Regions from separate parts of the Homo sapiens genome. Here all the other regions are linked to region 4. The links are contacts of gene promoters, found by promoter capture Hi-C in blood cells and fetal thymus (Javierre and others, 2016). All regions are on one chromosome and are shown on one strand. Each heading gives the region's core, a stretch centred on a gene start or on the middle of the fragment in contact. The rest is flanking DNA. Distances are from core to core; before and after follow the strand shown. Region 1 has its middle 260 kb from the start of CXCR4. Region 2 has its middle 62 kb from the start of CXCR4. Region 3 overlaps DARS1 (aspartyl-tRNA synthetase 1). Region 4 holds the start of SPOPL (speckle type BTB/POZ protein like). Region 5 has its middle 53 kb from the start of DARS1.

Region 1 (4,876 bases), core at 83-2,582, 2.1 Mb before region 4:
TGTGATTTTACCACCCAAAGGTTAGGCAATTCAAAAGCCAGAGCAAGCATGTGATGATTAAAAAGCATGGCAGAAAATTGTCAATAGCTTTGGAGATTTCATCCATACATTAAAAGACCTGTTTCGTGTTCTATTGGATCAATATGGCTCCAACGCTAGCACATTCACCTCTTGTTTAATTTGCCATTTAAAAATTTTGGTTAGTCCAATGACTCTAAACAATTCCAATGCAAAGAATAAATAAGCAGAACAGCAAATCAAACTGGATTTGTGGGCACAATTATATAGTAAGAACTCCAGAGCTGGAAGTAGAACTCTAATCACAGATTAGAATACAAATGTTTGCTTGTACATCGTACGCAGGCTCTACTATCTGCTGAATATAAATGGCTCCCTGATCGAACCTCTAGCCTGCATCGGGTGGGAAGGTAAGAGCTGGGTTTTGCTTTGCAAAATCTTAAGTCTCACCAAGAGAATCAGGGAGGCAGCCAATTGTAGTGGCAAATACGCAAAGCTTTGGAGTCAGGAAGTTATTTATTCTCTGGCTCTCGTTTTTATTATGTATTTAGTTTTTTGAGACAGGGTCTCGCTTTGTCACCCAGGCTAGAGTGAGTGGTGCGATCACAGCTCACTGCAGCCTTGACTTTCCGGGCTCCAGTAATCCTCCCACCTCAGCCTCCCAAGTTGCTGGGACAAAGATGCACACCACCACGCCTGGCTAATTTTCATATTTTTTTGGTAAAAATGAGGTTTTGCCATGTTTCCCAGGCTGGTCTCGAACTCCTGGCCTCAAGTGATCCACCTGCCTCGGCCCCCCAAAGTGCTGGGATTACAGGCGTGAGCCACTGTGCCCAGCCTGGATCTCATTTTTTAAAACCTGTAAATCTGGGACAATGCAACCTACTGCATGGAGTGGTTTTAGGGGTCAAGTAAAAATGGCCGGCAAGGCACAGAGTAGATGCTTGATATATAGCAGCTTTTCTTTCTTTCTTTCTTTTTTGAGATGGAGTTTCGTTCTTGTTGCCCAGATTGGAGTGCAATGGCATGATCTTGGCTCACCACAACCTCTGCTTCTCAGGTTCAAGCGATTCTCCTGCCTCAGCCTCCTGAATAGCTGGGATTACAGGCATGCGCCACCATGCCTAGCTAATTTTTGCATTTTTAGTAGAGACAGGGTTTCTCCATGTTGGTCAGGCTGGTCTCAAACTCCCGACATCAAGTAATCCCCTCCCACCTTGGCCTCCCAAAGTGCTGGGATTACAGGTTTGAGCTATCATGTCTGGCCCCCTATAGCAGCTATTCTTAAGTCTCCAGCTTCAGAGGGCTGGGGCCAGGAGAGGTTAAGAGGTGAACATCCATATTTACAGCCTTCATGTTTGGGGCCTTCTTCTCCCTCCTAAGGTTTTTCTGTGTTAAAATGCAAGTACATGTGCCCCTGGTGGAGAAACTCCCCGGGCTATAAAATTTTTACTACAGAATTGACAGAAATGGTCCCTGTAGATTTGGCTGAAATAAGATGTGCTTGAATTGTAAAGGGATGCCCCATATTTGGGGTAGGTGCTGTGCTAGTCACAGTCAATGTGCTTGTCAGGTGCATCCCCCTAGAAAACCAGCTGAGTTTGGTGTGAAGATAATTGGGAGGAGGAGAGTTTGGGTTCAGGGAGGAAAGGCCTGGTGGGGGCCTGCAGTGGATGGGAGAGCAAGAAAGAAGGGGCGTGGAGAAAAGTAGGGAGGCAGGTGTGGGGGTGCTAGAGGTTGTTACTTCCTGAAGTTGGGTCCCTCTGGGTGGAATGCCTTTCAGTGACCAGGGGCCACCTGTCCCACCATGTGACTCCATTGCTCAAGGAGCGTCCAGTGGAATAAGTGAGAATCTGAAGCAGAGAAAAATCATCCAGCAGCCATGTGATGAGTATGTAGGGGAGAGTTGAGGCTATGTGGTCAGCTTCGGTCCCGAGTTAGAATCAGATCTGTGACTTCAAGCAGAGTGACCCTGAGCTGGTTATCCAACTAATTCGTGACTTAGGCCTTCTGATAAACTGGGCTTCATAATATACTCATCTCACAGGGCTGGTGTGAGGATCGGCAGGGGTCATGTGAGGAAGCACTTAGCAGAGTCTAGCAAGCACTTAAATAGCAACTAGCGTCATGACAAAGCTTTATGCTCTGGATGCCCTTGACGGGGCTTTTAGCTGTGTGACCTTCAAGAAGTCACCTGCTCTTTCTGAGACTCAGTTGCTTCAGCCCTTTAAAAACAGAAACAAACACAGCCGACCACAGGGTGTGTATGGATCTGAATGAGTACAGACAAAGTCACTCATTGCAGGACTGAGTAGGAGGCAGGGTGCTGGGATTGGTGGGTTTAGGGAGGTCTGGGAGGGCCCTGAAGCTCAAGAGAAGTTTGTTTGGAAAGAAAAGCATCTTCCGTTTTGACTGAGAGGAAATGGGGAGGGGATGTGGTGCAGCGTCAAAGGCAGGGTCTGCTGACGAAACTTGGTGGTGGTGTTTCTCAAACAGAAATAGGACATTCTCACTCTCCGTGACACTCAAACTCCAAAGTTTCGGCCTGGGTGGTGGTTGCACCTGTCACTGACGACCTCACTTGACTTTGAGTTAAGCTGCCCAGGCAGCCAGAGCAACTGTGCCCTGGAAGGCGGCCCTGCCATCAGACAGACATGTTTTTCATATATTCCTGATTTTCATGTAGTAGTTCACTGGACATTTACTGCACACCTACTATATGCTAGGTGCAAGGGATTCAGCAGTGAATAAAACAGTTGCAGGTCTTGCTCTCAAAGACCTTTCAGTCCTGCAGGAGACAGAGGCAATAGAGAAAGAACAGCTTACTTGCATGTATAATTAAGATTTTTGCTGTGACGTTAAAGTTCAGAATGCTGTGAGACTGTACAATGGGGCAAAACCTAATTTAGATTGGGAGACCAGCAAGATAAATGAAACAGGAATGGAGTTCAGATGAGAGATGAAATAACACTGGACTGAAGTGGAGACAGGCTTTCTTTTTTCCTCAAACACCTCCCTTCACATCCAGGCATAGACCACTGGAAAAGTAGTTGCCCTGCTTCCTGATATTACTGTCCTCTAAATACACACACTTTGTGTACCCCCTCCATTCATTTCCACCCCGTCAGTCATTCTTGCCTGTATAAATTTCAACTTTAGCCACAGCCCTGGCCTCACTTCTTATAAAGCCTGCTTCACTCTTCAGTTCTCCAAGTTCTCTCTTCCTTTAGGCCTTTTTTTTTTTTTTTCAGGGTGGTCTGGACTGCTCTTTCAACCTGATTCTATTTGCCCATGTGGCATGTTTTGTTAATCCCATGGCCATACGTATGCTGGCATGTCTATAGTCCATCTGTGCAAATAGATGATACGTAGCATTTCCTCAACCAGAATACTGAGGAGCCTATGCAAATGAGCCATAATAGATCTTATCCTTCAGCCTGCTCACTTGAATGAGTTAAAACTGAGATACAGAGTAGTTAAAGGGGCCCACCAGTCACTGGACGAGAGTCTCAGACTATGATCATGTCTTGTTATTTTATCTTTATATCTCTTCAGGGCATTTGTTCCAGAGTCAGAATGCAATAGATGTTTTCTCTTTGATTGTTTATTCCTCGAGTTGGCCCATACATGTACTATCCCCTGTTCTTCCATTACTCATTTCAAGCAGTAGCTGTAGCATCTGTATTATTTAGCTCCTCTGTATGACTTGATTATCTTATCTGTCAAATGGGTATAGTAATTCAAATCAACAAACATTTATTCAATACTTACTATATCTCAAGGACTTTGCAAAGCTTTGGCGGGGGGCGGGGGTGGGTGCTGCAATAAGCCTGTTAAGATAGATCTGTACTCTTGCCTTAAGGAAACACACAGTGGTAGAACTTGGTAAAGGAATAACTACACTATAGCAAAAATGTCTATAATAAAGGAATATGCAACATATGGGAACACAGAACAGAGTAACTATTGCCTGGGGTAAGTGGAAAAGCTCATTAACACCTTCTCTACTTACCTTGAGTTTGCATTATGAGATTCTAATGAGATCATGCAGTGAAAGTGTGATGAAAAATGGAAAGGATTGTGCATGAAAACTACTAACCAAATGGATGGCAGTGTGATATGGGAGACTTTGGAGAGAGGTGAAAGAAGAAAGTGGTGGCTGCGACAAGAGGTTTGGACAGCATCTGTTCTGATGAACCAGTAAGTCTTACACACAGATAAAATTCAGAGGCATGGCTATAGACCATCTGAGCTACAGCCACCCCAGCTTTAAATTAAGATTTTGGCCACAGGAATGACCCAACCTCTTCATTCCATTAACATAGGTGAAAGCTCTGTGACCTGGAGTATTTGTCACCATTATCCTCCCATTGGAAGAAGATGATTGGGAAGACTGGAATTAGATGAGCGGAGGGAATGCTGGTGGGAGTGGGCCTTTGGAATGGGAAGCCCATAGCTATGACCATCTTGTCAGAACTAGGAGCCCTGATGGGCTAGTGAGAGAGTCACTTCTCTCTCCTTGTCCCTGCATCTGTAATCATGGAGATCTGAATGATGTGTTGTTTTGAAATAAGTGGTTTGCAAACATGAGCAGCTGTCATAATAATGAAAGCACAACATTCAGAAAATTACTCTTTGGTTAGGATTGACAATAGTTTGGGTCAAAGGACATTGCCCAAAGCAAAATAATTATGTATGGTGCAAGTCTGACATCATGCTAGGAGGCATTCTTTAAAAACCAAAAACAAAAAACCCATTTGTGTACCGTCCTTGACTCTTGGTTCTGCCCAAGCTCTAGAGCGACATCCAACCTAGCCCTGAGAATAGGAGAGAAAAGTGACAACAGGGCACTCTCTGC
Region 2 (5,118 bases), core at 124-2,623, 2.4 Mb before region 4:
TCAACTTTTATGGGAAAGCTGTGCATTCTTTTGTAGAAGACCTTATGAACCTCAAGCTTGTAAGTAATAGCTATCTTTTGTAAATAAGTTCTAGCTGTGTGCTAAGTACTTTATGACACCTGAGAGAAACTCAACTCATGATGATGACAGGGATGGTGAAAGTTGCTACATTAATTGAGTGCCTACTGTGTGCCAACAAGTGATTATATCCAGCATTATTTCTAACTGTTTCAATGTTAATATGAAGAAAGCATTATTAGCTTCATTTAACAGATAAAGAAATTGAGACTACTGAGACTCAGCAACGCTGGGGAGTAACACTGGCATTTGAACTCAGGTCTGCCAGACCTCTTCCACCATGCTAGGCTGAAAGGCTTTTCTGCTGATGGCTTTTGCAAAAATCATTCATGTACACTAGGAGGCCTAGGTGTGCAAAGCTATAAGATAAGCCATCTGAATGAAAGCTCCATTTTAGTAAAAAAGAAAACACTAGAAGAAGGGGGACATGAATAATAATAGCAAACACTTGTAAAGTCCCCCTTTGTATGAGATACTGCTCTAAGTGCTTTGTGACTACGAACACATTTAAAGTTGATGACAACTTTATGGGATAGGTGCTTTCATGGTTACCCTGGGCTTCCAGATTAAGAAACAGAGACAAAGAGAGGTTATGCAGCTTGCTCAAGGTCACCCAGCTAGTAAGTGGTAGAGCTGGGATTTGATCTCAGTAAATTTGGCTCCAGAGTCCATGTTATTAACCCCCTCACTCTGCTACCTTTGTCTTATGCTTAATTCCTATTATCAGGTAGGAATCTAATGGCAGGTCCTGCTGAGCCACCTGTAAACCAGCACAAGAAGGCATTTGAAGATCCCTTACATGTCCATATTATTTCTTGCTTGGAGTGGAAGGAAGGAGTATTGCCCCGCCTGTGGCTGGAAGAAGGCTGAGTAGCCATACAGTTCCAAAGCAACACCGTCTTCCTCTTCTGGGTGGGTTGGGTAGGGCACCATGATGATAACCTCTCTTTCTACATCCAGTCCCCTCCACATGCTCCCCTCCATAGCCTTAAAACAGGAAATAACCAGCACCCCAGTGATTTTTGTGGTGGTGGTTACTAGGTATACATAAGTATAAGATATTATCTCTAACCTTTAGGCGTTCATTGGCCAGTCACTGAAAGAAAGGAAAAAAAGAAAAAGAAAAAAGGAAAGAAAGGAAGAGAAAAATAGAAGGAAAGAAAGAAAGGAGAGAAGGAAAGAAGAAAGGAAGAAAGGGAGAAAAGAAGAAAAGAAGAAAGAAAGGCCAGGCACAGTGGTTCATGCCTATAATCTCAACACTTTGGGAGGCTGAAGTGGGAAGATCACTTGAGTCCAGGAGTTCGAGACCAGCTGAGGCAACATAGGAAGATCACAGAGTCTCTATAAAAAATATTTAAAAATTAGCTGGGTATGGTGGCACACATAGTAGTCCCAGCTACTTGGGAGGCTGAGGCAAGAGGATTGCTTAAGCCTAGGAGGTCAAGGCTGCAGTAAGCCATGATTGTACCACTGCATTCCAGCCTGAGTGACAGAGTACAACCCCATCTCAAAAAAAAAAAAAAAAGAAAAAAAAAAAATAGAAGAAGAAGGAAGGAAATGAAATAATTACACAGCATTAAGGCCAATGTGATGAAGAACCAATGTGGGCTATAATTGCCCAGGAGGGCTTCCCTGGAGATGTGGGGTTAATCTGAGCCATGAAGAATGATTATGGGTTGGCCAGGCCAGTTGGGGAGGGAAGGATGGCCAGAGGTAGAATGAAAGGGAGAGGACAGAGAGGCGCCATGGCTGAAGGGACACCATCCTTCCTTCCTCTCCCGCTGCATCCATATGACTTGTGTCCTGCTGCTGCTGAGTGCCAGTGGGTAAATACCTTCTCTAGAGCCCCAGCCCCTCCTTCGGCTCAAAAAGGTGAGTAACTAACATACTTCTTTGTGAAAAATGGGCGATCTAGACCTTATGAAACATTAATTTTCTAGTGTGTTCTCTATGAAGAAATGAAAACTCTGTATTTGAAGAAAGTCAAGGAAGTAGCTACAATACAGCCAAGCATTAACACAATGCCTGGATGGTTAGAAGTCTCAGGCTATTTAAAGACCCAGTAATTAACATAGTGCAATAACATAAAATAGGAAGGGCTACAGTTTACTCTGCACACAAGAACTCTTGGCAGCCACATGATTCCTTCACAAAAATACAATGACCAGTAAGTTCTGCAGATGAGTTTTCTCATCTATAAAATGGGTATAGTAACTGTATCCACCTCACTAGGTTGTTGTAAAGATTAAATGAGTTAATATACACAAAGTGCTTAGACCAACCCCTGCTGACTTATACACTGAGAAATGTTCTTAGGACAAGATGCTAGTTAGCTACAGAAGTGACACAGACCACATGTGAAGTGTGTGTTGTAAGTGGTAAATTTCAGAAATGGGTCCCAGAGGGGCAGATTCTTTTCCGAGGCATAACGGGTGATATGTAGGAGAAGACATGCTAAAGCTCCATTTCTTTTCGGTTGTAAAATGAGTCACCTTTTCTAAGAAGTGTTACATAAACCAGGTTTGGTTCATTTGAGCACGGTGTGGTATATAAGAAATAGAATTTGCTTTATTTTAAACCGTTTTTTTTTAACCAATTGGTAGTTGTTTAACAAAGCTTTTTAATATTTGATGTGAAGCAAAAACCAATGAAAGTCTATAAAAAATAATCCCAATATGATGACTCAGTAGCTCTCATTCTATTTGAAAGTGATCTGCACTTGGCAGGGGGTGGTGGGGGGAATGAAATCAGAAGGATTACAAGGGAGCTTCAATTAGATCTGTAACATCTTATTTTTTAAAATAAAAGAGAGCAAAAAGGCATAATACTAACATTTATTTAATCTGGGCACTATTAGATTATTTCCTTTGCTATTCTGCATGTTTGAAAAATTTTATTTTTCATCTAAAGAAATGTAGCCTTCAGCTCATTTTCCTCTCACCATATAGCTAACTTTACACTATATTCCTGCTCCCTACCCCCACTTTGGTTCCACAGATCTCTTCATCCCTTCTAGAAACAGTAGAATGTTTTGCATCTGTCTCTTTGGGGATTTCCACTTCAGCCTGACCAGTTTCGGTAAATGCTAACTCCATTTTTCCTTTCATCTCAGCCAGCACACTTTGTAGCGACTATTCACAGGTCTTCTGAGGGTGATATATCTGCGCCCCAGTGTCACAGCAGACACAAAATCTAGTAAAAATGAAATTTCAAGGGTGGCCTTGATCAGTATGAGTGTCAACACTAGGGACAGCAGTGGATAAGTGTGGGTAGAAGCATTGAGGGAGTGAGACAAAGGTGGAGATGAGGAAAATGTCACAAAAGGGCAGAGGCTGACAGTGGGGGCACTTGGCAGCCAGTTTCAGGTCTACCCCTGTTGCCTCGGAGATGGGAAGGCAAGTAGGAGGCAATGTGTTGATTGTATAAGAGCTTGTCAGATGACTTGTTAGCCCAGCTGGCCATCTACCTGATGCTGACTTGGGTCAACATGCAACTAGAACTTGGTTTCTGTAGAGGAATAAGGTCCCCTGAGTTGCAAGACTGTAGGAATAGCTCTACCGTGCTGGCAAATCTGTAACTAGCAATGAGTCCAGTGGGTCCTACCAAATGCTTATCGACTAATTAGATGACTGATTTAGTCTGTTTTGTACAGCTACAAAAGAAATACCACAGATTGGGTGATTCATAATGAATAGATATTTATTGGCTTTTGGTTCTAGGGGCTGAAAATTCCATTATTGAGGGGCTGGCATCCGGTAAGGGCCTTCTTGCTGCATTATCCATGGTGAAAGGGCAAAGAGAGGGAGGCAGTGAGGGAGGGAAGGATAGAGAGAGAAAGAAAGAGGAAGATGTGCAAAATAGAGCTGAACTTCTCCTTTTATAAGGAACCTACTCCCATGACAATGGCACTAATTCATTCAGGAGGGCAGAGCCCTCATGGCCTAATCCCCTCTTAAAGCACCCACCTCTTAATACTGTTACAATTGCAATTAAATTTTAACATGAGTTTTGGAGGGGACAAATGTTCAAACTATAGCAATGACCATTGTCAGTGCTGATGCCACCCATAAATACTAAAATTGATAGTAGCATTTTAGTATATATAGACTTATTTATGTCCCTGTTTCCCCTGTTGCACAGACTGACTAGGGGCTGTGCTCCCTGGCTGAAATGTTAGGACCTGTGGAAGCATGCTTTAAAGCTTGTCTTTCCCCCTTCACCAGATCAGTTTTCCATTGAGTTCTCATGGTGAATCCTTTTTAAAATGTAAGGTCCTGAAAGAAAGAATCCATGTGTTCTCAAGTTCTTGTATGCCCTGCCAGGACCTGTGGGCTTTCAACAAAAGTCATTTGAGGAGTTCCATTAGGTTGGCAGATACAAAAAACAGCTGTGCTTTCCAGAGAGAGAAATCTATGACTGCTGAAATCTGCTATCTTTGACTCTGCCTTTGCCTTTTATCTTTTCCTTTAGATAACAGGCTTTACTGTTTTGCATTTTACAGTCATATAAACTAATTCAGGATCACCCTTTGGCTGTTTTGCCATCTCAATGCACTCAATTTGAGTTGCTCCCTTAAAATAGCTGGCTTCCAATTCTTTAATCATGAATTCCAAATGACATCTTAAACTTGCTTGAGAAAAAGTTGAAAAGGACATTTTTGGAAATGTACAAATTGTTACTTATTGATTTACTTTTATTCAATAAAAATATGAGAGGCCGTGCCTTGGCTGATCCTGATCAGTTGCTTACCCATCTCTCTCTCTTCCTCAGTTTCTTTCTATGCAAAATAGAGCCAGTAATGGTACTTATAGCTTGCCATAGAGATTAAAGGTTTAACATAAAACACTTTCCCTTAAGAATATGACCATCTAGTTGGGGAGATGTTGACTATAAATAGATGTTAAATAAGGAAACAAAGCTGAGTTGCTAAGTGAGTATATGGATGGCAAATGCTCTGGAGCAGTTAGCCCTTCTCTCTAGCTGAGTAATGATTTCTCCATGAAGTCCTGTCCTTGTTCTACTGTCAGACTAGGTGGAGCC
Region 3 (5,417 bases), core at 946-3,445, 2.5 Mb before region 4:
TAACGTTTCTTCTCTGTTGTTGAGGCTAAATTTTTAGCACTGTCTGAAAGAACTTTCTATGATGAGAATATTCTGTATTTGTGCTGTCTGTCCAAAATGGGAGCCGTTAGCCACATGTGGTCATTAAGCTCTTGAAATACAGCTAGTGTGACGGAATTACTGAATTTAAATGTAAATAGCTGCATGTGGTCAGTGGTTACTGTATTGAATTGCCCAGTCTTATCTTTTGTTCACTTCTCTCCTCATCTAGATAATTACAAATATAAAAATATTAACAAACGGGAAGTTTCTCAAAAACACTCTTCACTTAAATAATTAAAGTTTACTCTTTTTTTTCAATTTTTTTTTTTTTTTAGCTACTCCTTCTCCAGCTGAAAATAATTAAACTTTAGAGCGATGCTAGAAAAGTAGCTTGAAGTCTTAGATTTCATCAGTCTTTAGGGTCAAATTATTTGTAAGGATGTTTTACAGGAATCTAAAATTGATTAACCATGGGTTAATACTTTACAGTGACTTTTAAGAAAGAAAAGTTACATGTTTTTGTTTTGTTTTTAAAGATTTACTTTGGTCTGTGAGGAATATGTAAGACAAAAAATTCGGAGTCCTTACCGAAAGAGCTTTAATAATGAAACCAATCCTACCTTTAGCTCTGCTTGTATGAACTCTTGCACGTACCCAAACAACTTCATCAGCTTTTTGTATTGTCAAGTCTCTAACCCGAACCAAAACTCGATCTGTAATAACAGTAAACGATTTTTATATAGTAAAATAATTTTTAAATTCAGAATTTACAAAGAGATCATAATTATTTTTGACAGCTAGCATAAGTACTTGGAACCATCCTGAATAATTCTCAATCTTTGACAACACTGTCTTCTCTATCATGTTCCATGTGCAATTTGCCTCAAGTTTTGTGAACTGTGCTTTCTAAACATATTTTTAAAATCCGTCTATTTCTCTACCATCTTCACTGCCGCCATACTAAACCAAGCTATTGTCTCCCACCTGAACTACAGCAATAGCTTCCTAACTGCAATCCCTGTGTCCCCTTCTAATTCAGTCTCCTTTGAAGTCAGACAGTTTCAAAATGCAAATCTGAACACTTCAATGACTTGTAAGGCCAAACACAGCCTATCCTGCCTAGGACATGGAACTTTTGCCTGCCTGCCACAGTACCTAAGTCAGCTAGTCTCTACCAAGTCTGAACAGTCGCAGTATCCTATTCCCCAGGATGCAGTGACTCTAACTGAGCTAATGCAAGTCTTTCTCTGGGACTAAATATACAGATGCTGGGAATGAAGCTCTCTTTCCTGGGATTGCTGCGCTGACATGGTGCAGGCCCAGGGCTGCAGCTTTCACCTTTCCTGCTATGTTTGCAGGATTCGAGAAGGAGGCCAATATCCTAAAGGAAACAGAGCCAAAAGCTGGAGAGAGAAAGGCCTGTAGATGCTTCCTGAGCCCCAAGATCCAATCATGCTTGATGTCATCTCATACATTTCCCTATCGAGCCTTTTGGCTGTAAGTGAGCCCCAACTATTATGCTCCTAATACTAAACAAAATACTACATTCATCTAGAGTTCCTAAACAGGAAAACAGCTACAAAACAACTGTTATGTAAAGATGTGTATACAACGCAACATTCAACAATCATTTTTGCTACTCTTCTAAATGCAATCATTTGATTAGAGAAAAACATTTAAGTATTAGTTAAATTAAACATAGCAATAGACATGACATTACAATATCGAGAATACCTTTTGAGACATAAAGTCAAATTATAAATACTGTATGTCTTACCGAATTTTTCTAAATGTATTTATAATTTGCCTATTGAAGAAAAGATGCAGCTGCAGAGAGAATCTGATTTACAGGAGAATAAATAACACGGTTCTCATAGCCAAAAGCAAAGAGAATGAAAGAGGAATTTTAAAGCCACTGGCATCACAAGAGGATTTCTGCAAAACACTGCCAACAGACTTTATGAGTTAAGCCAACTTCCAAGTCTGCTGTGTAAACTCAGGCAAAAGAAAGCGTGAAAGAGAAAAGACAGACACATCAGCAGAAGATTTTAAAAGGCAGATTTGAAAATGCCAAGACTGAAAAAGCAATGGCTAACCAAGCAATCACAACTCAAAACCACACAAAACAGAAAAGCAGAAGTCTAAGAGATATGCGATAATTAGGATAATTTTACTAGCACTTTGGAGAAGAAAAAGGGTAATGGCTCTTCTTTCTTGTGGCATGGCAATTAACTAGCATAGGGGTTCTCAACCTTTAATACACCCGAACATACCCGAAGCCCATGCCATACTCACATCACTATGACTGGCTAACCAGTAACAACCAAGGTAGTAGGATTTCAGTTTGAAAACTGCACTTTTAAGAGTCATGGGCATCAGAGTGATTAATGCAGAGAAATGGAAGCAGATGAGAAAGGAAACCACCTTGAGCAAAGAATTGGCATTTTTGCAGAGGTAAAACCAAAGGCCGAATTTTACATACATAGGTTATCTTTCTCTCTAAGTGGAAGAACGCAACTGTCTGTGGATTTGCCAGCAAAAGAACAACAGCAATTATGTTAATGGCTGCTTTGGGCCTATGTTAAAGACCTAAACTCCAGTGAGCTTCTTTGTGTTACAGCTCAAGGAAGTACAGTTGAGAAAGACACCTAACCTGAAAACAAAGTCTCAAGTGTCTCCTCCTGCTTGCCCTGGCAGAGGAATATCATCCCCTATACTCTATTGCTCATAGTCTATTTTACATAGGTTGAGCATTCCTAACCCGAAAACCCGGAATGCTCCCAAATCCAAAACTTTTTGAGTGCTGACATGATGGTCAAAGGAGATGCTCATCGGAGGATTTTGGATTTTCAGATTAGGGATGCTCAAGTGGTAAATATAATGCAAATATTCCAAAGTCCAAAAAAATAAAGTCCAAAACACTTTTGTGGTCTCAAGCATTTTGGCTAAGGGATACTCAACCTGTACTCAATTACTTTATTTCATCTTTATGTTTTGGAAATGATTTTCAGAAATTTTGGCTTTTTTTTTTTTTTGACAGGGTCTCACTCTGTTGCCCAGGCTGAAGTCCAGTGGTGTGATCGTGGCTCACCGCAGCCTTGACCTCACAGGCTCAAGTGATCCTCCCATCAGCCTCCTGAGTAGCTGGGATAAAAGGTGTATGCCACCACGCCTAGCTAATTTTTTTACTTTCTGTAGAGATGGGGTCTCACTATGTTTCCCAGGCTAGTTTCAAATTCCTGGGCTCAAGTGATCCTCCCAACTCAGTCTCTGAATTTTGGTCTTTTATTGTATTCTTTCCCAACAAGCCTGGGAAAGAAAAGTGATTTTGTGATCATGTGGCAAATCAAATATAACAATAAAATTAACCTAGAGGTGTTTTATTTCCAAAGCATAATATTCATAGGCAGCCCTCTAAACTGGAAGCAGTGCTTCCAATGGGCAAGAATGTAAACGTCTACAATTACTGCACCAAAGAGTGAGAGACGTAATTTGAAGTGTCTACCAAAAGAAAAATTACTGTCAAATAGTTAAGTAAGACAAATCTGTTGAAATTACATATATAGAATAGAAGTAAAAGAAAGGCAAACATTTATAAATAAAAAATCTACAGGTCTGAGAGAAACAACATGAGTCAGGTCAATTTCAAAGAAATATAAGGCCGGGTGCGGTGGCTCACACCTGTAATCCTAGCACTTTGGGAGGCCGAGGTGGGTGGATTGCCTTGAGTTCAGGAGTTCGAGATCAGCCTGGGCAACACAGTGAAACCCCATCTCTACTAAAATACAAAAAAAAAGTGAGGCGTGGCGGTGTGCGCCTGTAGTCCCAGCTGCTCAGGAGGCTGAGGCAGGAGAATTGTAGGAACTTGGGAGGCGGAAGTTGAAGTGAGCCGAGATCATGCCACTGCACTCCAGCCTGGGCGACAGAGCGAGCCTCTGTCTCCCAAAAAAAAAAAAAAGAAATATAAAGATGCCAACATACACTAACAAAAAAGAGCGGTTATAAGAAAAGATAGACTGGGGTCTAAGAATAATTCATTTCATTCCCAGACACTAAAGCTACGAGTAAACAAAATGGAGTGGGGGTGGAGGCTTTAAAACTCAAATCATAGTACTGCCAAAGAAGCCAGAGAAGATGTAAGATGGAAGGACCCATGGACTCTAGGGTCAGATGGCCTTTGGTTCTAATCCCAAGTCTGGCAGACTCTGTGTAAGTCAAGTTTCTTATCTTTCAACTTTGGTTCCTTAGTTTTCAAGGATGCTGTAGAGAATAAGTGAAAATATAAATGTTTGGGAAGAGTCAAGCAAAATAGGAATAAATAATAGCTAAAAACAGTCAGAGAAGTAAAGTTGTGGGGGTTGGGGGAAGTAAAAGAGGTAGCTTTATTAAAGCATGCAAAAAGGCTACATGTGATGAAGGCAGTTATTAGCCACTCTCCTATCTCCTAGACAACGGTTGAATCTTACCTAATAATTTAGGAATATTTAAAAAATATAATCTACCATTTAAAACATACCATTTAACCTACAATACCTAATAACATTTTTTTTCCTTTTCTAGAGTTGGAACCCTAAACTGACAATGTTTACACAGGGTTATGACATCTACTTGGATTATTAATGTCATTTAAGCTTTTCAGAATTATACCTTCAGATTTATGCCAACCTTACTTAAAATTTCATTTAGAGCTTTCCTGGAATTAGAAAGCAAAAAAGCTTTATTTACTGTCACATAGCTACTAACCTGGTTTTTCTTGTGATTGTATCATTGAAGATATTCCATATCTCTCTTTAGCATAATCCTACAAAAAAAGTTTTTTGCATCGTGACTTTTTATGTAAACACTAAGAGCACAGTAAACACATAAATACTAATAATAGAATATAAAAATGAATTTAACTTTCAGGATCATTTTATTAATTCAGAAAGTCAGTAGTTTCATAATGTGGAAATCTCTCATTCATTTACATATGTACTCTACAGAAAACAGAAAAGTACTGTTTCTGGTTAGTTTGTTTTGAAGATCACCACTCCTAGATGGATTTACCATACTTAATAACATTCTCAGATAAAATTTACACATATGTACAACACATCTTAACTACCTTCTTCAAAAAGATGAAACTACTTCAAAGCAGGGACATAAATTTCCTCTGTGAAGGGAGTAGGATGAAGTACCACAGTTTTATTAACTTCCTATTACAGGAAGAAATGTTCAAAGAGAACCAACGTTTTGGGTAAGCTTTCTGAGCACCAGATGTCCACAGTTTTTAGAAACTGGAGATGCTGGGTATAAGCTAACTACAACTTTCCTTTTGTAAAACATCATCAAAAAATTCACCAGCTTCCTGTTTCTAAAAACCAGATTCAGGATACCAGGTTACAGGAGTTTGACAC
Region 4 (4,928 bases), core at 802-3,301:
ATGTAATTTTTGCTGTATGTCACATACCATAAAGTTAACACGGGTGGACAGTGAGTATAGCAAATCGTTTCAACTGTTCTTTGCTGGTGTTTGGAGATGGTTAAATGTTTACACAAATATTTCCTCTCTCCACCAACTCTTTCCCCATTCCCTAATGCTCACTTCCACTTCTGTTTTTTAACTTTTGGAGTTCCTTGATCTGCATAAACATTCTACCAACTCAGCCCAAGGCAACTTTGAATTTTATGGTTACATTGCTAATTTTATCTTTATCTGAAAACCTTTGGCACAGATTTTGTCTTAAAGCACGTTTTGTCTTAAATAAGTCAACAGGATTGCTAACGTAAGGTCAGGTGCTAATCCCAGCATTTTGGGAGGCAGAAGTGGGAGGATCACTTGAGGCCAGGAGTTTGAGCCCAGCCTGGGCAATATGGTGAGACTCTGTTTCTACTAAAAATACAAAAATTAGCCGGGCTCACGCCTGTAGTCCCAGATACTTGGTGGCTGAGGCACAGAATTGCTTGAATCTGGGAGGTGACCCAGGATCGCGCCACTGCACTCCAGCCTGGCGTACAAAGCGAGATCCTGTCTCAAACAAACAAAAAGAAAAAAGAAATAAAAAAGACAGCTAATGTAGTATTAATTTGAAATGAGGGGGATCTGCCTGTCCAGTATTCAAATCCCAGTAACCTCTGGATGAATTACTTGCCATTTCTAGTTCTTGTCGCTTAATTTTAAGATGGAAATTTCTACGTTGAAGTTTTAGAGAGGTTGTTGAGAGAACAGAGACGATACAAGTCCATGCTTAGAATACTCAGTACATAGCAAAATAATAAATATTTTCCCTCTGCCCTCTCTCTTTTCTTGGAAAGCCAGGTAAGCAATGAGAAGTTGGTTTATGGCCAGGTGTGGTGGTTCACGCCTGCAAATCCCAGCACTTTGGGAGACCAAGGTGGGAGGATCCCTTGAGCTCAGGAGTTCGAGATCTGCTTGGGCCACATAGCAAGACCTCGTCTCCACAAAAAATTAAGATTACCTGGGCGTGGCACATTCCTGTAGTCCCAGCTACGGGAGGCTGAGTTGGGAGGATCACTTTAGCCTAGGAGGTCGAGGCTGCAGTGAGCTGTGATGGCACCACTGCACTCCAGCCTGGGTGACAGCCCTGTCAAAAACAAAACAAAACAAAAATTGCTGACGTATGCACAGTTAAAGCAAAAAGAGTTGGGATCCTTGAATGACGTTCATGTCTGTTCTGGCAAAGCCGGGATTGTTGGTCCCCCAAACTTCTTTAAAGAAGTTTACTCCTGGTAGCTCGATTAAGTATCTTTGTCCCATGGCCGTGGGGAATAAAAAGTTCAGTTGTCACCCCCTTTTTAAACTAAATGTCCGAAGAGACAAGGCAATCCCATCCTCTCTTCACACATTTGTGCAGGTGCAGCTTTATTTCCCACCGTGCGGTCCCAGGAGGCCGCCTGGTCTTCTGCGCTCACTTCCTAGGCATCCCTGGCCGCCCCTCGGCAGCCTCTCCTTCTGGCCTGAGACTTCCAGCTGAGCCTCATCCCCTCCACCTGAAAACTGCTCCATGGGGCACTTCATCTACCTGGAAAGTTCTCGATTTCCAACTGGAGCCTGTATACTGCTGGTTGTGTCTCAGCAGTTATTACAGCTCTGGGCTTACAACGGGAGCTTAGCAAAAGTTCCACCCTGGCTTCCTAGACTGCTACAGCTCCAAGAAAAATCCTGTGCGCACAAACGGCCGCCGCCTTTGGCGTCTCCCGCGGATTAGACCAGTTAGGAGGTCTCAGTAGGCTTTTAGGCAGGACAAGTTTTACGCCTGGCCAAATAAGGGTCAGACTAAGCAAGGCGCCTCCGTGCGCCTAGCCAGAGCGGTGCCGGCTGCGGAACCTGCCCCGCCGGGAGCCTAGTGCCATGCAGCAGCGGCGGCGGTGGCGGCTTCCCAAGCGCGGCGGCAAATCCGGGCCCGCCCGGAAGTGCCCGGCGCTGTAGGAGGGAGCAAGGGCCCAGGAGCCGCCGCCGCCGCCGCCGCGCGCACGCGCCCTCGCGGGCTGGAGCCGGGGCTGGAGTCGTAACTCGGAAGCCGGAGCCCAGACGGGCCCGCGGCGGGGGGGTGGGGGCTGCGCGGGGGCGGGAGTGGCGGAGGTGGCCGCCCCTGGCGGCGGGTTTGTTTATCCCGGGGAAGAAGTTTAGGAGCGGGAGATAGGGAAGGAGGGCGGGTCGGGGAGGAGGGATGCGGTTCGGCGGAGGCGGCCGCCACAGGGACTTGCCGCCATCACCCCTGCTGCCACCACCGCAGCCTCGGGCTCCCAGGGCGGACACGGCCACCGCCTCAGCGGGAGAGGAGTCTCCACCAGGACTGACCGCTGCCGCCCAGCACGTCCAGGTAGGCGCCCCTTCCCCTCCCCCCAGTCCCCGCGGCAGCCCCAGGCGCTTGCTCCCCTCCCCCGGCTCTCCGTAGACCGGCGGCCTCCTGCTCGCGCCTCACTGCGCCCTCTGCTCTCTGGGTCCCGGACCCCTGCTCGGGCGGCGAGCTCCGGCCTGCTCTGGGGACTACCTCCCACGCCCCCGGACCGCCCTTCCCTCGCGCGGCGGCACCACTTTCCCCGGGGTTGCCCCCAATCCCTCCTTGATTTCCCAGCCTCCACCTTCCAGGATCCCCTTTAGTTTTACCCCCGGGCCTCGCCCCTTCTTTTCCTCTGGCTTCTCTCCTCCTCTATACCTGTATACCTCCACACCTGCCCCTTTTTACCTGAGTGCTGCCCAAAGGCAGAAACTGCATGCTCTGCCACCGCGCAGCGTCCACTTTCATACCTCCTCATCCCAAATACAGACACTTGAAACTCTCGTCCCTGTTAGCCCATTTTAGGCAGAGTTCTCAGCTTCGCAGACCGCTCACTACCTCCAGTCCGGTGGTCATGCCTTTAACCTCTCTTTAACCTGCTTTCTAATACATTTTTGCTCACTTATACCAGAGTACATCAAGCTAACCGCGCGGTTCGGGGTCCAAGTCTTCAAAGAGCCCACTTGTATTCCTGCTGCTCTCCTTTTTCCTAATTCTTTTTGAGTCAATGTATTTGTATATTGATTCAACATAAAAGAAAAGGGAAGGTAGCATTTTCTCTCTCAAAGCAGTCACACAACCCAGTAGAAATAAGATTCACCATCTGCTTATCCTAACTTTCGCTTGTCTCTTTCCTGACTGAACTCTGTCATTCAGTGATTCTTTCCAGGCTTCTGATGCTTTGTCTATTTTTGAATAATCTTGGGCCTAGTTTGACCCATTGTGGTACTCACTTTCCCACTTGCAATTGAATCCACTGTTTCTTGGACTAGAAACTGACAGAGGTAAAAGGTTCATACCTTGAAAAATTACATCTCTCCTGCCACGATGAGATTGGTGGAATATTTCAAATTACCATTTCATCATTCTTGTGAGAAATGTTGCCTAGTGGTTAAGAACTCTTCTCTAGAGCTCAGACTAGTATATAGTTGCCAGGGTGTAAACCCTTGCTCTGCCATCTACCAGCTTTGGCTTTGGGGAAGTTACTTAATATTTCTTCGCCTCAGTATACTTACAGCTGTAAAATGGGGTTATGATATGACATCACAGGATGGTGCTAGTAATTGCACAAGTAAATACAAGTAAAGTACTTAAAACAGTACCTGGCACAGGGCAAATATCTGATAAATGCTATCATCACTTCTTGGTTTGACTTGATCTGGCTTGTGGGTAGATTAATTCTAAGACAGGAAGGTGGGAATGGAAAGCTACTTTCTTATTCTTTGACATTTAACAACCTTTTTTGATATAGATAGCATGTATAATTTGTTATTGTATAAATTAATTCCTTCTGATTTGAAAACTACAGGGTTTTAGCCCACCATTTTCAAGGCAGCTAACTACCAAGCTACAGATAGGTCAGTCCTTATTTCAGATGTCTATTTGGAACTTCTACAATTTTACCTTTGTTTTGAGAATAAACAAAGTGAAAGTACTGTGTATAACAGATTCATCATACTGGAAAATGAGATTTTACAGATAAAAGTTTTAGTACTGTAAGTTAAATACTCAAAACTGGTGGTATTCTTCATACTCATCTGACCTTTATCTTCAATCACTACTCGAGATAGAGCTTTGGCTTGTCTTCCTTCAGAAGACTGGTGGCCGTTTTCTCTTAATGTGTTATGTTCATTCATATTCACATGTCTTCTTGGCTTGGTGTTTACAGAATTTTACTCACTTTAAAAAATGCTGACAGTTTTTGCCGTATTTGCTTACCTCTTGTGCACTGTTGCTTACTTATTACATTTTTAAAGGACTCACATTAAAAGATCTGAATAGATATTACTTTTGTGTTGTTTTAAATAGTAAAAGTTTGAAATCACTATTTGCTGTCCTAATTACATGTAAAAATATGTACATATGTAACTATCAAAATAAAAATGTTTTTCCATTTATAGTTTAAAATCATTCTTGTGCCACCATGGAACATGTTCCATACTTGGGGGTGACACTGTTTTTGGTAATGCTGTTCCCTGACCTAGAATAACCTTTGCTCTTTCTCCTGTATATCCAGGTTCTACCTGATTTTCATCTCTCACTGCTTCCACATAGTTCCTTCCAACATTTAGTTTCTTGGCTTTCCTAATGTCTATATCTGCATTTTTGGCCATGAATTTATATAAACAGGGCAGGTTGAAGAAAAATAACTCCCCTAGAATCAGACTTTTAAAGCTTATAGAACTTTGAAAGGGTGGGATAAAATTGACATTTAACATCTACTCTATGCCTGGCACTGTTTCTTAGTTTTGTAAATATTCTTTCCAAAAATATTTAATGAGCATCTACCATGTGCCAGGCATTGGGGATACATGAGAGTGGCCCTTCTCAACCATGTTTCTGGGTGAAA
Region 5 (5,201 bases), core at 797-3,296, 2.5 Mb before region 4:
AACAGATCGCCAGGGAAAGCCTGCAAAGGTGAGAGTACTTAAGGCTTCTAAGAAAGTAAATAAAGGTCCACATGCCCAGAATCTAAAACGTAGTCACGCAAAATGAACCTCATGATATTCAGATGGTGTATAAAAGAATGGGTTCTGTTTGCTCGTTTGCCTTTTTTAGAGCCCTAAAAGTCCACACTTGTTTTAAGCAGCTGCAAAATAAGTAAATAGATTTTTGAGAGCAAAATTAAGATTTGGTTGAAACATCTTTCTCATCAAATAGCATGTTTAGGCCCCAGATGCTCTATGAAGCACTCATAAATAATGTGATTTCTGTCTCTAGAAGCTGACATTTGCAAGAAGATGCCTGGTAAAAGTGTAGATATAAAATACGTATTTGTAGAAATACAATATGCTGTCTTTTGTATAAGAAGATAATGTTAAATGACCTATCATCATTTATTTTGAGCCTCTTTTCTGTCTACATACTCTTACCCAGCTACCCTCATAACAAAACACACATTTACCAAAGGAATAATTCATGGAACAAAACAAAATGAGATAAGGTGCTGAGTTAGTTTTTCACTATACTTTTAGCATTTCGGTGGTCTGTGATAAACAATGGAACTAACCAGTAAAATAAGCTTAGATTGAAAAATGCCTTAATCTGCCTCCATGCAAAAGAAATATTCGTATTATATAAAATTCAATTTTCTTGAATATTTGCATTATATGTATTTTAAAATTGCTTTCTTGAAGTATAAATGACATGCAATAAAGTGCATATATTTAGGTGTACAATTTGATAAATTTCAACACATGTATACACCCATGAAACCACTGCTGCAATCAAGATAAAGGACATATGCATTACAGCCCTGCACTGTCTTGTTCCCCTTTCTAATCCCTGCCTCCTACCCTACGCATCCCCTCCTCCTCCCAACAATCTCTAGGCATTCACTGTTGATTAGTTTGCATTCCCTAGAATTTTATATGAAAGTAACCATACAACATGCATTCTTGTTTTGTCTGGCTTTTTTTTCACTCAGGAATTATTTTGAGACACGCCCAGATTGTAGCATTCGTTAACAGTTCATTCCTCATTATTGCTGAGTAGTATTCCATTGTATGGACATATCACAATTGTTTGTCCGTATACCCATTGAAGGACATTTGGTTGTTTCCAGTTTTTGGCTATTATAATAAAACTGCATGACCATTTACGGCTAAGTCTTTATATAGATATATGCTTTTATTTCTCCAGGTAAATACATAGGATTAGAATGGCTAGATCACGGGGTAGGTTTATGTCTAACTTTTTTTTTCTTTTTTCTTTTTTTTTTTTGAGACACAGTCTCTCTCTGTTACCCAGGCTGGAGTACAGTGGTGCAATCTTGGTTTACTGCAACCTCTGTCTTCAGGGTTCAAGGGACTCTTGTGCCTCAGTCTCCTGAGTAGCTGGGATTACAGGTGTATGATACCACACCCAGCTCATTTTTGTATTTTTAGTAGAGTTGGGGCTTCTCCATGTTGGCCAGGCTGGTCTTGAACTCCTGGCCTCAAATGATTCAAGTGTCTTGGCCTCCCAAAGTGCTGGTATTACAGGCATGAGCCACCGCGCCTGGCATGTCTAACTTTTTAAGATACCATGAAACGGTTTTCCAAGCTGGTTGTACTATTTTACATTCTCATTAGCAGGGTATCAGAGGTCCGGTTTTAAGCATCTTTACTAATATTTGGTATGATTTGTCTTTTTATTTTTATTTTTTGTGAGTTATTGGTATAATTTTTTTTTCTTTTTCAACTTTTATTTTAGATTTAGGTAGTATACATGCACGTTTGTTACCTGGGTATATTGCATGATGCTGAGGTTTGGAGTCTGAATGATCCCGTCACTCAGACACTGAGCATGGTACCCAACATTTAGTTTTTCAACCCTTGCCCCTCTCTCTCCTGGCTCTGGTAGTCCCCAGTGTCTATTGTTGTCATCTTCGTGTTCATGAGTACTTGATGTTTGGCTCTCACTTATAAGCGAACGTGTGGTATTTGGTTTTCTGTTTCTGTGTTAATTTGCTTAGGATAAGGGCCTCCAATTGCATCCATCTTGTTGCGAAGGACATGATCTCATTCTTTTCAATTTGTCTTTTTAGAAGTGTGTTGTTTAATCTCCAAATATTTTGGGATTTTCAACCATCTTTCTATTATGGATTTCTAGTTTAATTCCATTGTGGTCTGAGAACATACTTTGTATGATTTCTATTCTTTTAAATTTGCTTAGGCACATCTTATGGCCCAGAATGTGGTCTGTATTGAATGTTCCATGTGAATTTGGGAAGAATGAGTACTCTGCTGTTGTTGGATGCAGTACTCTGTAAGTGTTAATTAGATACAGTTGATTGATGGTACTATTCAGTTCAACTACAATATGTCCTTACTGGTTTTTCTGCCTGCTGGATCTATCAATTACTGAAAGAAGGGTGTTAAAGTTTCCAATTATAATATTTGTCTATTTCTCCTTGCAGTGCTATCAGTTTTTACCTCATGTATTTTGATGCTGTGTTGTTAGGTATATACCTTTAAGCATTGTTACATCTTCTTGGAGAATTAGCCCCTTTATCATTACACAGTGTCCTTCTTCGTTGCTGAAAACTTTCCTTGTTCTAAATTCTGGCTTGTCTGAAATTAGTACAGTTACTCCAGCTTTATTTTGGTTTGTGTTAGCATGGTATATCTTTTTCCATCCCATTTATCTTCCCTTCCCTTTCTGCTTTCTCTGTTATTAATTGATCATCTTATATGATTCCATCCTCTCTTCTCTCTAAACATGTCAATATACTTTCTTTAAAAGGGCCCTGGGCACTGCCTGGGTCCCTCTCTATGTGCTGCAGCATGGAAATTCTCTCCAAGTGGTAAGCTGAGGTTGTTGTCAGACTCACCTTGGCACTATTGATATTTGGGGACAGATAATTCTTTGTTATAGGGGGCTGAAGTGCATTGTAGGGTGCTTAGCACCATCCTTGGTCTCTACCCACTAATAGTAGCATCCTCAGTTGTGACAATCGAGAATATCCCCAGATGTTGTGAAGTATTCTCTGGGGGCCAAAATTATGCCCAGTTGAGAACTACTGATTTCGAGATTTGAACACAGACTCTTCAACCTGACACGCCTCCCTAATATGTTCCTGTCTAACCTTTCCCAGTCTCATCACCTAGACTTTTGCTCATTCCATTCTCTAGCCAAAAAACTACTTGCTGTTCTCCTATCATGCCTTAAACACCAGTGTCCCTGTGCCCCTTTTGTGCTGTTCTCTCTGCCCAAAATGTCCTCTCCCATCTCTCTGTCAAAATTCTCCCCACTTTAAAGACCCACCAAAAATACCAAATTTTCTACAAAGCCCTTTTGATTTTCTAAGCTGATATGATTTTCCTCTACTAGTTTATTTGTCTCACACCCCTATCCACCTTAGTAATGGTAAGCTTCTTAATGCATATTTTCCCTTCTGCACACGTATTGTGGCTTTTGCACACATGGTACTGCCCTTCACTGCACATAACAGGTGCTCAATATATATTAACTGAATTTTTAGTTTTTACATATTGAGGTTCCTTTTAAAATATAAATCTGCTACCATTCAATAATAAAAGACAACCCAATTTAAAATGGGCAAAGGATCTGAATAGATATTTCTCCAAAGAAGATCTACAAATAGTCAATAAGCACATAAAAAAGATGTTCAACATAATTAGTTATTAGGGAAATGCAAATCAAAACCACCATGAGATACCACTGCACATCCACTAGGATGGCTATAATAAAAAAGACAGTTAATATCAAGTGTTGGCAAGTATGTGGAGAAATTAGAATTCTCATACACTTCTGGCAGGAACATAAATGCTTTGGTAAATTCTTTGGTAGACAGTCTGGCAGTTTCTCAAATGGTGAAATATAGTTACTATATGTTGTAGCAATTCCACTCCTAACTATAGACAGACCCAAGAGAAATGAAATTTGTGTCCACACAAAAACTTGCATACAAATATTCATAGCAGCATTATTCATAATATTCACAAAATGAAAACAATGCAAATCCATCAACTGATTAAGGAATACATAAAAGGTGATATATTCATACAATGGCATGTTATTAGCCAACAAAAAGAAATAGGTACTGATATCTGCTACAATGTGAATGAACCTTGAAAGTATTATGCTAAGTGAGTGGAACCAGTCACAAAGGGTCACAAATTGTAGAATTTCATTTTATTGAAATGCCTAGAGTAGGCAAATCTATAGACATGGAAATCAGATTTGTGGTTGCCTAAAACTTGAAGGATGGGAAGACTATGGGAGGGTGGCTGTGGGGTATGGTATTTCTTTTTGGGAGTAATGAGTGTTCTAAAACTGATCATGGTGATGGATGCACAATTCTGTGAATATACTAAAAGCCATTGAATTGTCTACTTTAAATGGGTGAGTTGTGTGGCATGTGAATAATATCTCAATAAAGCTCTTTTTACAAGGCATATCTTTTAATTAAGATTCCAAAGAGAAATATGTAATATTTAACATATGATCAATATATAAAAAAAGTTGATAAAAAACAAAAATCCCTTTCTATGAGAAAACAATTGGACAGCAAAGCCAGTTCTCTTGGCAAGAAGAAAATTGCTGAAGCTTTCACAAATCTGCCTGTAGAGTAACAGATGAATTCTACTAGGATGGGTTTTTGCTATTTTTGCTAAGACAACCTTTTTGGCACATCGTTATTAAGCTTTGACTCATTACCATTTGTGACAACACTGATAAAGGTCCCACCTAAGAACACTCCTTTACTCTATTTCATACTGTGTTATTAGAATATGTATCCAAGCCTTGTCTTTGCAAATAGCCAGAATAGCCATTACTTCCTGCATTCATAACGTGATCATCCTGAGCTAAATAAGGTGGATTCTCACACAGAGAACAAGTACTTGAGGCAAACTAATTAAAAGACAGACTTGAAGATCAGACCTGATATAGTCCCCTCTGTTTTCCAGACAGGCACTCCTGAATATAAATACATACCCCTTCCGATACATTGTTATCTGTTAGATGTCTTTGTGCAAACTAGAGTAGATTTATGTTTTGTTTCATGGGTGGAGACACTCAGAGAAATAGGAACAATGTTTTGGGGAATTCTAAACCGATTTTTAAAATCATGCCTGTTACCTGC

The links. The method cuts DNA at HindIII sites, captures the fragments that hold promoters and counts their contacts. A CHiCAGO score of 5 or more calls a contact.
Region 1: a fragment that was not itself captured here is called in contact with the fragment with the promoter of SPOPL in region 4 in 1 of 17 cell types (naive B cells); the score reaches 5.7 in naive B cells.
Region 2: a contact is called between a fragment that was not itself captured here and the fragment with the promoter of SPOPL in region 4, in 2 of 17 cell types (neutrophils and total B cells). The highest score is 6.4, in neutrophils.
Region 3: a fragment that was not itself captured here is called in contact with the fragment with the promoter of SPOPL in region 4 in 1 of 17 cell types (fetal thymus); the score reaches 5.1 in fetal thymus.
Region 5: a fragment that was not itself captured here is called in contact with the fragment with the promoter of SPOPL in region 4 in 1 of 17 cell types (neutrophils); the score reaches 8.9 in neutrophils.

Annotation. Positions count from the first base shown.
Region 1 is chr2:136,379,988-136,384,863 of GRCh38, forward strand. No RefSeq gene overlaps it. Among named protein-coding and RNA genes, the nearest start is that of CXCR4, 260 kb to the left of the region's middle. The HindIII fragment of the contact is 1,640 bases long and covers 513-2,152 here.
Region 2 is chr2:136,053,987-136,059,104 of GRCh38, forward strand. No RefSeq gene overlaps it. Among named protein-coding and RNA genes, the nearest start is that of CXCR4, 62 kb to the right of the region's middle. The HindIII fragment of the contact is 2,638 bases long and covers 55-2,692 here.
Region 3 is chr2:135,978,633-135,984,049 of GRCh38, forward strand. It overlaps DARS1 (aspartyl-tRNA synthetase 1), which reads right to left. Exons shown (of 16, transcript NM_001349.4): 2 at 4,765-4,822; 3 at 642-734. Among named protein-coding and RNA genes, the nearest start is that of DARS1-AS1, 3.8 kb to the right of the region's middle. The HindIII fragment of the contact is 4,910 bases long and covers 1-4,650 here.
Region 4 is chr2:138,499,719-138,504,646 of GRCh38, forward strand. SPOPL (speckle type BTB/POZ protein like) reads left to right here and starts at 2,052. Exons shown (of 11, transcript NM_001001664.3): 1 at 2,052-2,401. It overlaps SPOPL-DT (SPOPL divergent transcript), which reads right to left and starts at 1,977. Exons shown (of 2, transcript NR_187149.1): 1 at 1,601-1,977; 2 at 1-1,162. RefSeq lists silencers at 1,948-2,487, 2,688-2,737. The HindIII fragment of the contact is 5,215 bases long and covers 1-4,751 here.
Region 5 is chr2:136,036,062-136,041,262 of GRCh38, forward strand. No RefSeq gene overlaps it. Among named protein-coding and RNA genes, the nearest start is that of DARS1, 53 kb to the left of the region's middle. The HindIII fragment of the contact is 2,833 bases long and covers 631-3,463 here.